2 separate regions of the Homo sapiens genome follow, and region 1 is linked to region 2. The links are contacts of gene promoters, found by promoter capture Hi-C in human tissues and cell types (Jung and others, 2019). All regions are on one chromosome and are shown on one strand. Each heading gives the region's core, a stretch centred on a gene start or on the middle of the fragment in contact. The rest is flanking DNA. Distances are from core to core; before and after follow the strand shown.

Evidence for each region. Contacts are between HindIII fragments. The study calls those that stand out against the background at their distance.
Region 1: a contact is called between a fragment that was not itself captured here and the fragment with the promoter of BECN1 in region 2, in 8 of the 25 tissues and cell types used here (H1 embryonic stem cells, IMR-90 fibroblasts, aorta and 5 more).

What each region holds. Positions count from the first base shown.
Region 1 is chr17:42,944,480-42,949,594 of GRCh38, reverse strand. No RefSeq gene overlaps it. Among named protein-coding and RNA genes, the nearest start is that of AARSD1, 17 kb to the left of the region's middle. The HindIII fragment of the contact is 8,985 bases long and covers 1-5,115 here.
Region 2 is chr17:42,821,091-42,825,770 of GRCh38, reverse strand. BECN1 (beclin 1) reads left to right here and starts at 1,489. Exons shown (of 12, transcript NM_001313998.2): 1 at 1,489-1,616; 2 at 1,892-2,023. The coding sequence starts at 1,894. It overlaps MIR6781 (microRNA 6781), which reads left to right and starts at 1,828; the gene lies at 1,828-1,891. RefSeq lists enhancers at 560-1,126, 1,131-1,260, 1,127-1,695, 1,696-2,262. The HindIII fragment of the contact is 8,869 bases long and covers 1-4,680 here.

The DNA of each region.
Region 1 (5,115 bases), core at 438-2,937, 120 kb before region 2:
TTCTAAATTTGTATGCATCTAATAACAGCCTCAAAATACATAAAGCAGACATTGACAGATCTCAAGGGAGAAACGGACAAATCTGTAATCAACGGAAGACTTAAGCTCATCTTTCATTAGTGATAGAGCAAATGGAAGCATAATATGTTCAGGAGCACAGGCTTTGAAGTTTCACAGACCTGGGTAGAAATACTGGATTTGCACATCCAGGAAAGGTGATAAAACAAAGATCCAGTCACAGCTTTAGCTAGAACAAAGATGGTTAAGGCCTAGACAGCCAGGATGAAATAACAGAGGAGAAATACAAAAGCTGACATCCAGGGGAGATAACCTGTGGCTGTGGCTGTGGCTGTGTTCAGCTATTTGTTCTTCCGACTCTGAAAGGAACTTTTTTTTTTTTTGGAGATAAGAGTCTTGTTCTGCCACCTAGGCCGGAGTGCAGTGGCATGATTTTGGCTCACTGCAACCTCCGCTTCCTGGGTTCAAGCAATTCTTGTGCCTCAGCCACCCAAGTAGCTGGGATTACAGGTGTGTGCTACCAAAAATTTCCTTCAACCCTGCCACTGAGTTACCCAATTTCTTTCTCCAGAATCAATCACTTAATTTTTTTGTTTTAGATGGAGTTTCGCTCTTGTTGCCCAGGCTGGAGTGCAATGGCGCAGTCTCCGCTCACTGCAACCTCCGCCTCCCGAGTTCAAGCAATTCTCCTGCCTCAGCCTACCGAGTAGCTGGGATTACAGGCATGTGCCACCATGCCCGGCTAATTTTGTATTTTTAGTAGAGATGGGGTTTCACCATGTTGGCCAGGCTGGTCTCGAGCTCCTGACCTCAGGTAATCCGCCGGCCTCGGCCTCCCAAAGTGCTGGGATTACAAGTATGAGCCACCATGCCTGGCCTTTTTTTTTTTTTTTTTTCCAGATATAGTCTCACTCTGTTGCCCAGGCTGGAATGCAGTGGCACAATCATGGCTTACTGCAGTCTCAACCTCCTGGGAACAGGTGATCCTCCCACCTCAGCCCTCTGAGTAGCTGGGACTAGAGGTGTGCACCACCACACCTGGCTAATTTTTTGTATTTTTTCTAGAGACAGTGCTTTGCCGTGTTGCCCACACTAGTCTTGAACTCCTGGGCTCTAGCAATTTGTCCACTTTGGCCTCCCAGTGTTGGGATTACAGGCGTGAGCCACCATGCCCAGCCTGTTACCAATTTCTTATATATCCCTCTGGTAGTATTTTAAAAAATAGATGTACATAAATCTTCCCTCTTTTTAAACATAAATGGTAGCACATTGTATACTCTTCTGCATCTTGCTTTTCTCAGAGTGCCATGTTTTAGATAAAACCATAGTGTAACACTCATGCTATACAAAATGGGTCCATTAGTGGGAGAAAGGGAAATGTTTGCTTCACAGAAGCTTCCTTACTTTTGTAGAAGGACTCAGGCAGGATCTTGAACAGAGACCCATGTGAATTTGTCTCTGTGTGAGATCTCTGTCCCTCTCTGTGTTTGTTTCTTTAGGGTGTGCCTTAGTCTGATCTGACTGCTATAATAACAAAAACTAGGTAGCTTATAAACAACAAAAATGTATTTCTCACAGTGGAGGCTGGGAAGCTGGCAAATTCAGTGTCTGGTGTGAAGGTTCAAATACTGGTTCAGGAATAGCCATCTTTTTGCACCCTTGGTGCAAAGGGTAAGGGGTCTTTCTTGGGCCTTTTTTTTTTTTTTTTTTTTTTGAGACAGATGGAGTTTCACTCTTGTTGCTCAGGCTGAAGTGCAATGGTGCAATCTCAGCTCACTGCAACCTCCACCCCCTAGGTTCAAGTGATTCTCCTGCCTCAGCCTCCCGAGTAGCTGGGATTACAGGCGCCTGCCATCCCACCCAGCTAATATTTTGTATTTTTAGTAGAGATGGGGTTTCACCATGTTGGCCAGGCTGGTCTCGAACTCCTGACCTCAGGTGATCCGCCTGCCTCAGCCTCCCAAAGTGCTGGGATTACAGGCATGAGCCTCCGCACCCAGCCCTCTCGGGCCTCTTTTATAATGCACTAATTTCATTCACGAAGGCTCTGCCCCCGTGACCTAATCACCTGCTAAAGGGCCCACCTCCTGATACCACTTAGGGGGTTAGGATTTCAACATATGAATTTTTAGGGGTACACAAAGATTCAGAACACAGGTGCAACAACAAGAACAGTGACCTGGGAGGCCACTCTTGCTCACTACCACTCAGGTGGGTTCTTGTCACTTAGACCTAGAGCAACCATGTAATTTTAATATCCAGAGTTAGGCAAACCTCATGCCAGAACAACAGTCAGAAACCCAGACGGTGTTAAGGTAGCCTGGATGTCTGGTCCCCCTGCTGAGACTCCCTGAGCTTCAGTTTCTTGACCTGAAAATGGACACATGAACTGGGTGTCCTAAGAAGGAAGGAACCTTATGAAATAATTAAGAAAAGCCATAAACACTTGAGCAAATTATGTGAAAATGGTAATTGGTTGTATAAAGAAAGAGAAAATAAAGCAGCAGTTTTTGAACTGGTGATGTCATTCTTGCCTGTCACTGAGGCCCTAATCCAATGCCCCAGGGAGAGGGGGAGAAGAACAGAGTGTGTTCAGGGGAAGGGGTGGATTGTCTTTTATGAGGTTCACCAGGAAACAAAATGAGTTCATTTATTGGAGTAATCAAGTTTTAGGTACACACACAGGTTATATATTCTGGAATGTTACTATAACCCACTTTACGGCACAGAAATAGTAAGGGGGACTCCTTGGCTTCTAAGGAAATTTTTTTATGTGCGTACCCATAAATTGCTGAAGACAGCTGCTGTAGCTTCCACTAAGGTGATGCATGTAGGTACTAGAACAGATGTTAGTATGAAAGATGAAAGGTATCAGGTGGAAGAGACCCAGAGCAGTAGACAGACTGAATTCAGGGCCGGCGCTGTGGCTCATGCCTGTAATCCCAACACTTTGGGAGGCTGAGGCAGGTGGATCACCTGAGGTCGGGAGTTTGAGATCAGCCTGACCAACATGGGAAAAACCCCGCCTCTACTAAAAATACAAAATTAGCCAAGTGTGGTGGCGCATGCCTGCAATCCCAGCTACTCTGGAGGCTGAGGTAGGAGAATTGCTTGAACCCGGGAGGCGGAGGTTGCAGTGAGCCAAGATCGCGCCGTTGCACTCCATCCAGCCTAGGCAACAAGAGCAAAGCTCCGTCTCAAAAACAACAACAACAACAACAACAACAACAAACACACACAGACTGAATTCAGGAAGGCATTGTGCCAGTGTCCTGTGCTCCACCCTGCCTTGGAGTCCTGAGTGGAAACCAGTGAGTCGGCCAAGCTGTGCTAGAATGCCAGATCTGTCCCTGAATGAGAACTTAAATAAACTCTAGGGTTTATTTAAAACCTGGTACCAAAAGGAAAACAGACAGTGTTTGCCCTAATGAAAAAAATCTTTTTCAGAAAGCGTCTCTGTCTCCCATTCCTTTCCTGAATTTGATCCAAACTATGACTAGTGTTCTCAACAGAGGGCAAGTAGGGATGTTTGGGAACGAGTGATGGAGGAATTTCCTTCTTTCTTTAGAAAGGTCTGTATCTTCTGTGCAAAATACTACAGGCAGAGTGCCAGGCTTCAAACTAAGGAATAAGTAGGACTTAGTTAACTGACCTGGAGTTGTGTCTGGAGCAGAAGAGGCTCTCACAGGGACAGCTTTCTCTTTTGCTGAGCCATAAACTCCCTGCAGAAGTGACCTGTGGCAGAGGCCTGTTAGTAAATATCCCTGTTCATTTTAAAACACCAACCTCAAAGCCAAGAGTTTGGAGGAGGGAGAGGGGTTGAGGAGTTGTTGGTCAAAGGATACACACTTTTAGTTAGATAGGAGGAATAAGTTTTTTGATTTTTTTTTTTTTTTTTTGTCTGCTTGTGGGCTTGTTTGCTTTTTTTTTTTTTTTAGACAAGGTCTTACTCTGTTTCCTGGGCTGGAGTGCAATGGAAATCTTGTCTCATTGCAGCCTCGACTTTCCTGGGCTCAAGCGATCCTCCCACTTCAGCCTCCTGAGTAGCTGGGACTACAAGCACACACCACCGCACCTGGCTACTTTTTCTACTTTTGTGGAGACAGGGTCTTGCCATGTTGCCTAGGCTTGTCTTGAACTCTTGAGCTCAAGTGATCTTCCTGCCTTGGCCTCCCGAAGTTCTGGGATTACAGGCCTGAGCCACCTTGGTTGGCCAAGATAGGAGAAATAAATTTAAGATAACTGTAGTACTACACAATGACTATAGGTGTTTAATAACAATGTATTAGGCCAGGCGTGGTGGCTCATGCCTGTAATCCCAGCACTTTGGGAGGCTGAGGCAGATAGATCACTTGAGGTCAGGAGTTCGCGACCAGCCTGGCCAACATGGTGAAACTCCATCTCTACTAAAAATACAAAAATTAGCTGAGCATGGTGGCACACACCTGTAGTCCCAGCTACTCAGGAGGCTGAGGCAGGAGAATCACTTGAACTCCGGAGTCAGAGGTTGCTGAGCCGAGATTGCGCCGAGATTGTGCCACTGCCCTCTAGCCTAGGCAAAAGAGCAAGACTCAATCTCAAAAAAACAAAACCACTGAAAACTAATGTATTGTATTCTTGAAAATTGCAAAGAGAGTAGTTTTTTTTTTTTGAGACGGAGTTTCGCTCTTGTCGCCCAGGCTGGAGTGCAGTGGTATGATCTCAGCTCACGGCAACCTCCTTGTCCTGGGTTCAAGCGATTCTCCTGCCTCAGCCTCCCGAGTAGCTGGGATCACAGTCACCCACCACCATGCCCAGCTAATTTTTGTATTTTTAGTAAAGACAGGGTTTCACCATGTTCACCAGGCTGGTCTCGAACTCCTGACTTCAGGTGATCCACCCGCCTCAGCCTCCCAAAGTGCTGGGATTACAGGCGTGAGCCATTGTGCCTGGCCTACAATTTTATATGTATCAATTAAAATTAGTTAATTATTTAAGAGGCCAAGTGTTTCAGAAAAGAAGGGAGGAATCAACATTTTCTTCTGTGAAAATGCAAGTTCTCCCTTTCATAATACATAACTTGTGTTGTTGTTGACTTGTGCATATGATACATAATCA
Region 2 (4,680 bases), core at 240-2,739:
GCTTCACTCCAGCCTGGGTAACAGAGTAAGACACTGTCTCAAAATAAAAATAAAATAGACAATACTACATACAATTTTGGGTTAAGCAGTGGTTTCTTTTACACCAAAAGCATAAACATTGGACTTTATTGAAATGAAAAACTTTTGGCCAGGCACATTGGCTCACACCTGTAATCTCAGCACTTTGGGAGGCCACAGTGGGGGATTGCAAGGGGAGATGGGAAATGTTCTAAAACTGGATTATGGTGATAGTTGGGCAACTGTGTAAATTTACTAAAAATTATTGAACTGTACATTTAAAAAGTGTGAGTCTTATGGTATGTAAATTATACCCCATAAAGTTGTTTTTAAAAATGAAGTAAGTCCCTCTGCTCAAGACCCAGTCATCTCATCTCATTCAAAGTGAAAGCCAGAGCTTTACAATCCCTATAAGAGCCTAGGTGGTAGCTCAACACTCTTACCTCCCTCACCCCATTTTCTGTATCTCTTTTCGTTGCCCATCTTCTAGCCACACCAGCCTCTGCTAATCCCCAAACAGGTACCCTCTGTGCTCTTGCTGTTCCCTTGGCCTAGAATGCTCTTCCTTAAGATGCAGGTAAGAATTCCTTCCTCACCTTCTTCAAGCTTTTATTTGAATATCACTTTCTTTTTTTGTTGGTTTTGTGTGTGTGTGTGGGGGGGGGGGGTTTGAGATGGAGTTTCCTTCTGTCGCCCAGGCTGGAGTGCAGTGGCATGATCTCGACTCACTGCAACCTCCGCCTCCGGGGGTCAAGCGATTTTCCTACCCCAGCCTCCTGAGTAGCTGGGATTACAGGCGCACGCCACCATGCCCAGCTAATTGTATTTTTTAGTAGAGACGGGATTTAACCATTTTGGCCAGGCTGGTCTCGAACTCCTGACCTTGTGATCCGCCCGCCTCGGCCTCCCAAAGTGCTGGAATTACAAGCGTGAGCCACCATGCCCGGCCTTTTGTTGTTGCTGTTGTTGTTCTGAGATGGAGCCTTGCCCTGTCGCCCAGGCTGGAGTGCAGTGGCCCGATCTCGGCTCACTGCAACCTCCACCTCCCAGGTTCAAGCGATTCTCCTGCCTCAGCCTCCCGAGTAGCTGGGATTAAGCTGGGATTATAGGCGTGCCCCACCACGCCCGGCTAGTTTTTGTATTTTTAGTAGAGACGGGGTTTCACTGTGTTGGCCAGGCTGGTCTCGAACTCCTGACCTCACGTGATCCGCCCTCCTCGGCCTCCCCAAGTGCTGAGATTACAGGCGTGAGCCACCGCGCCCGCCGCCCCCTGAATTTAGAGAATAGCGGAGCCTCCCCATTCTCTGCGGCCTTGGCTCCTACACTTCCCGTGGTAACCTTGTTCATCCGCTGAAGCCCGCTGCTTTTCCCAGCCCGGCCTCTGGGGGCCGCTGCCGGGCCTGTGAGCCTGTGGACCAGGAGCTCCTGCTGCCGTCGTAGCGTCACGTCCGGTCTCGGGCGGAAGTTTTCCGGCGGCTACCGGGAAGTCGCTGAAGACAGAGCGATGGTAGTTCTGGAGGCCTCGCTCCGGGGCCGACCCGAGGCCACAGTGCCTCCGCGGTAGACCGGACTTGGGTGACGGGCTCCGGGCTCCCGAGGTGAAGAGCATCGGGGGCTGAGGTGGGACCTTAGAAGGGAGTCTGGGAACCCTCACGGCTCTTATTGGAGTCCCTTCCCTGACCCTGGGCTCTAAACTGCCTTTGCTCAGGCTGTCCCGGAAGCAGGTCCTCCCCGTATCATACCATTCCTAGAGGGAACGGCGCAGGTTGGGACTTCCCTCCCTTTACCATCGTCACCAAGGCATGTGGTAACCCCGGGCCGGAGGTCAAGGGCGTCGCTTCTCCCTAATGTTGCCTCTTTTCCACGGCCTCAGGGATGGAAGGGTCTAAGACGTCCAACAACAGCACCATGCAGGTGAGCTTCGTGTGCCAGCGCTGCAGCCAGCCCCTGAAACTGGACACGAGTTTCAAGATCCTGGACCGTGTCACCATCCAGGAACTCACAGGTCAGCGAGACCCTTGGAAAGAGGGTGGTCAAGAATGTGGAAGGTGGGCAGCTTTGGTGATATAATTCTTATGGTGGCTGTGTAGTCTGCCACAAACTCATCGTGTGAACCTAGGAAAGTCACTTCATCTGGCTCCCTGTTTTCTCCTTGGAAACATAAAGCATTCTGACATTGTGGACTTCTGAGAGCTTTCCGACCGGGCGCGGTGGCTCACGCCTGTAATCCCAGCATTTTGGGAGACCGAGGCGGGCAGATCACCTGAGGTCAGGAGTTCGAGACCAGCCTGGCCAACATGGCGAAACCCCTCTCTACTAAAAATACAAAAATTAGCCGGGCGTGATGGCACGTGCCTGTAGTCCCAGCTACTCGGGAGGTTGAGGCAGGAGAATCGCTTGAACCGGTGAGGTGGAGTTTGCAGTGAGCTGAGATCGCACCACTGCACTCCAGCCTGGGCAACAGAGCGAGGCTCCGTCTCAAAAAAAGAGAGCTTTCAGTAGCAAAAGAAAGATCCTTATTTTCTGCTCCTGCTGTTTCAGAGAAAAGGAATATGTATATATAATAATAAATGGTATTTTTTGAGGACTTACTATATAGTAATACCAAGTGCATTACACGTATTACTTCATTTAGTCCCTGTAACAACCCGTACGGGGTATACCGTCATTACATCATTTTTCAGATGAAGAACCGAGGCACAGAGAGGTTAAGTGACTTACCTAAGGTCCAACAGCTGGTAAATGGAGTAGAGTCTTAAAGTCTGAAGAATTTGCTGGATGTGATGGCTCACGCCTGTAATCTCAGTGCTTTGGGAGGCTGAGGTGGGAGGATCGCTTGAGCCCAGGAGTTCAAGACCAACCTGAGCAACCTAGCAGAGATCTTGTCTCTAAAAAAAAAAAAAAATTGCTGGGTGTGGTGGGTGGTGGAGGCTGAGGCAGGAGGATCACTTGAGCCCAGGAGGTCAAAGCTGCAGGAAGCTATGATCATGCCACTGCACTGCAGCTTGGGCAACAGTGCAAGACCCTGTCTCAAAAAATAAATTAATTAAAAAGGCCAGGAGTGGTGGTTCACACCTGTGATCCCAGCACTATGGGAGGCTGAGGCAGGTGGATCACTTGAGCAGGAGTTTGAGACCAGCCTGGGCAACACAGTAAGACCCTGTCTCTATAATTAAAAAAAATAAAAAACCCCAAAATCCCGCAAAGTCAGAAGAATTCAGATTAAGTCAGACAGTAAAAGAGAAGACTGAATAGGCAGCTTAAATAAGCTTATGGGCCTGGAGTCAGCCTGCTTGGGTTTAAATCCTGGCTGTCATTTACTAGCTGAACAACTTTTTGCAAGTTACTTCATTTCTCCAAGCCTTGGTTTCTGATTTTTTCTGTAAAACGTTAAACTGCCTCATAAAGAATTTATAAAGTTCAAATATGACAAACCACAGAAACACTTAGGAATTTGCTGGGCAAATAGTATTCAATAAGTATTAGCTGCTATTATTACCTGGTTTCTCTTTCTTGAGGGGAAATTAGCTCTTTTTTTTGTTTGTTTGTTTGAGACGGAGTCTCACTCTGTTGCCAGGCTGGAGTGCAGTGGCGCGATCTCGGCTCACTGCAACCTCTGCCTCCCGGGTTCAAGTGATTGTCCTGCGTCAGCCTCCTGAGTAGCTGGGACTGCAGGCACACACCGCCACGCCCAGCTAATTTTTGTATTTTTAGTAGAGACGGTTTCACTATGTTGGCCAGGATGGTCTCGATCTCTTGACCTTGTGATCTGCCCGCCTCAGCCTCCCAAAGTGCTGGGACTACAGGCGTGAGCCACCGCGCCTCTTAAACTCTTTTAATAACAATTTTTGACTTTTTATTATGGAAAATTTGAGACATATATAGTCAAGAGAATAGCATAGCCTGCCTTGTATTCATCATCCAGCTTCAATAATCAGCCATATTCTCACATTCTTATGTTGTCTACACCTCCATTCACCTCCCATCCTCTGCTCAATTATTATGTTTTTCACACCTTTTTAGAAAGGTAAATTGTCATGACTTGAAATGTATGAATCTTAGCTGTACATTTTTGACAAATGGATACACTGATGTAATCTGGATCGTTGCAATTTAGCAATGTTTCATCTTCCTAGAAAGTTTCCTTATGTTCCCTCCTTGCTATTCTGGGGGAAACAGGATGTTTGCTTTTGTGATGGAAAATTTCAGAGTATATCATGAACTCCTGTGTACCCATCACCTAGTTGCAACAATTATCAACACATATTTAATCAAGTTTTGTCTACAGCCCCATCCATTCCTTCCCACTCTGAATTGTTTTGAAGCAAATCCCAAACATAAATACTGTAAATATTTCTGTATTTTTGACAGATAAGGATTCTTAAAGATAAATGATACCGGCCGGGCGCGGTGACTCAGCCTGTAATCCCAGCACTTTGGGTAGCTGAGACGGGTGGATCACGAGGTCAGGAGATCAAGACCTGGCCAACATGGTGAAACCCTGTCTCTACTAAAATACAAAAAAATTAGCTGGGCATGGTGGTGCACGCCTGTAGTCCCAGCTACTTGGGAGACTGAAGCAGGGGAATCACTCGAACCCGGGAGGCAGAGATTGCAGTGAGCCGAGATCGTGCCACTGCACCCCAGCCTGGCGACAGAGCA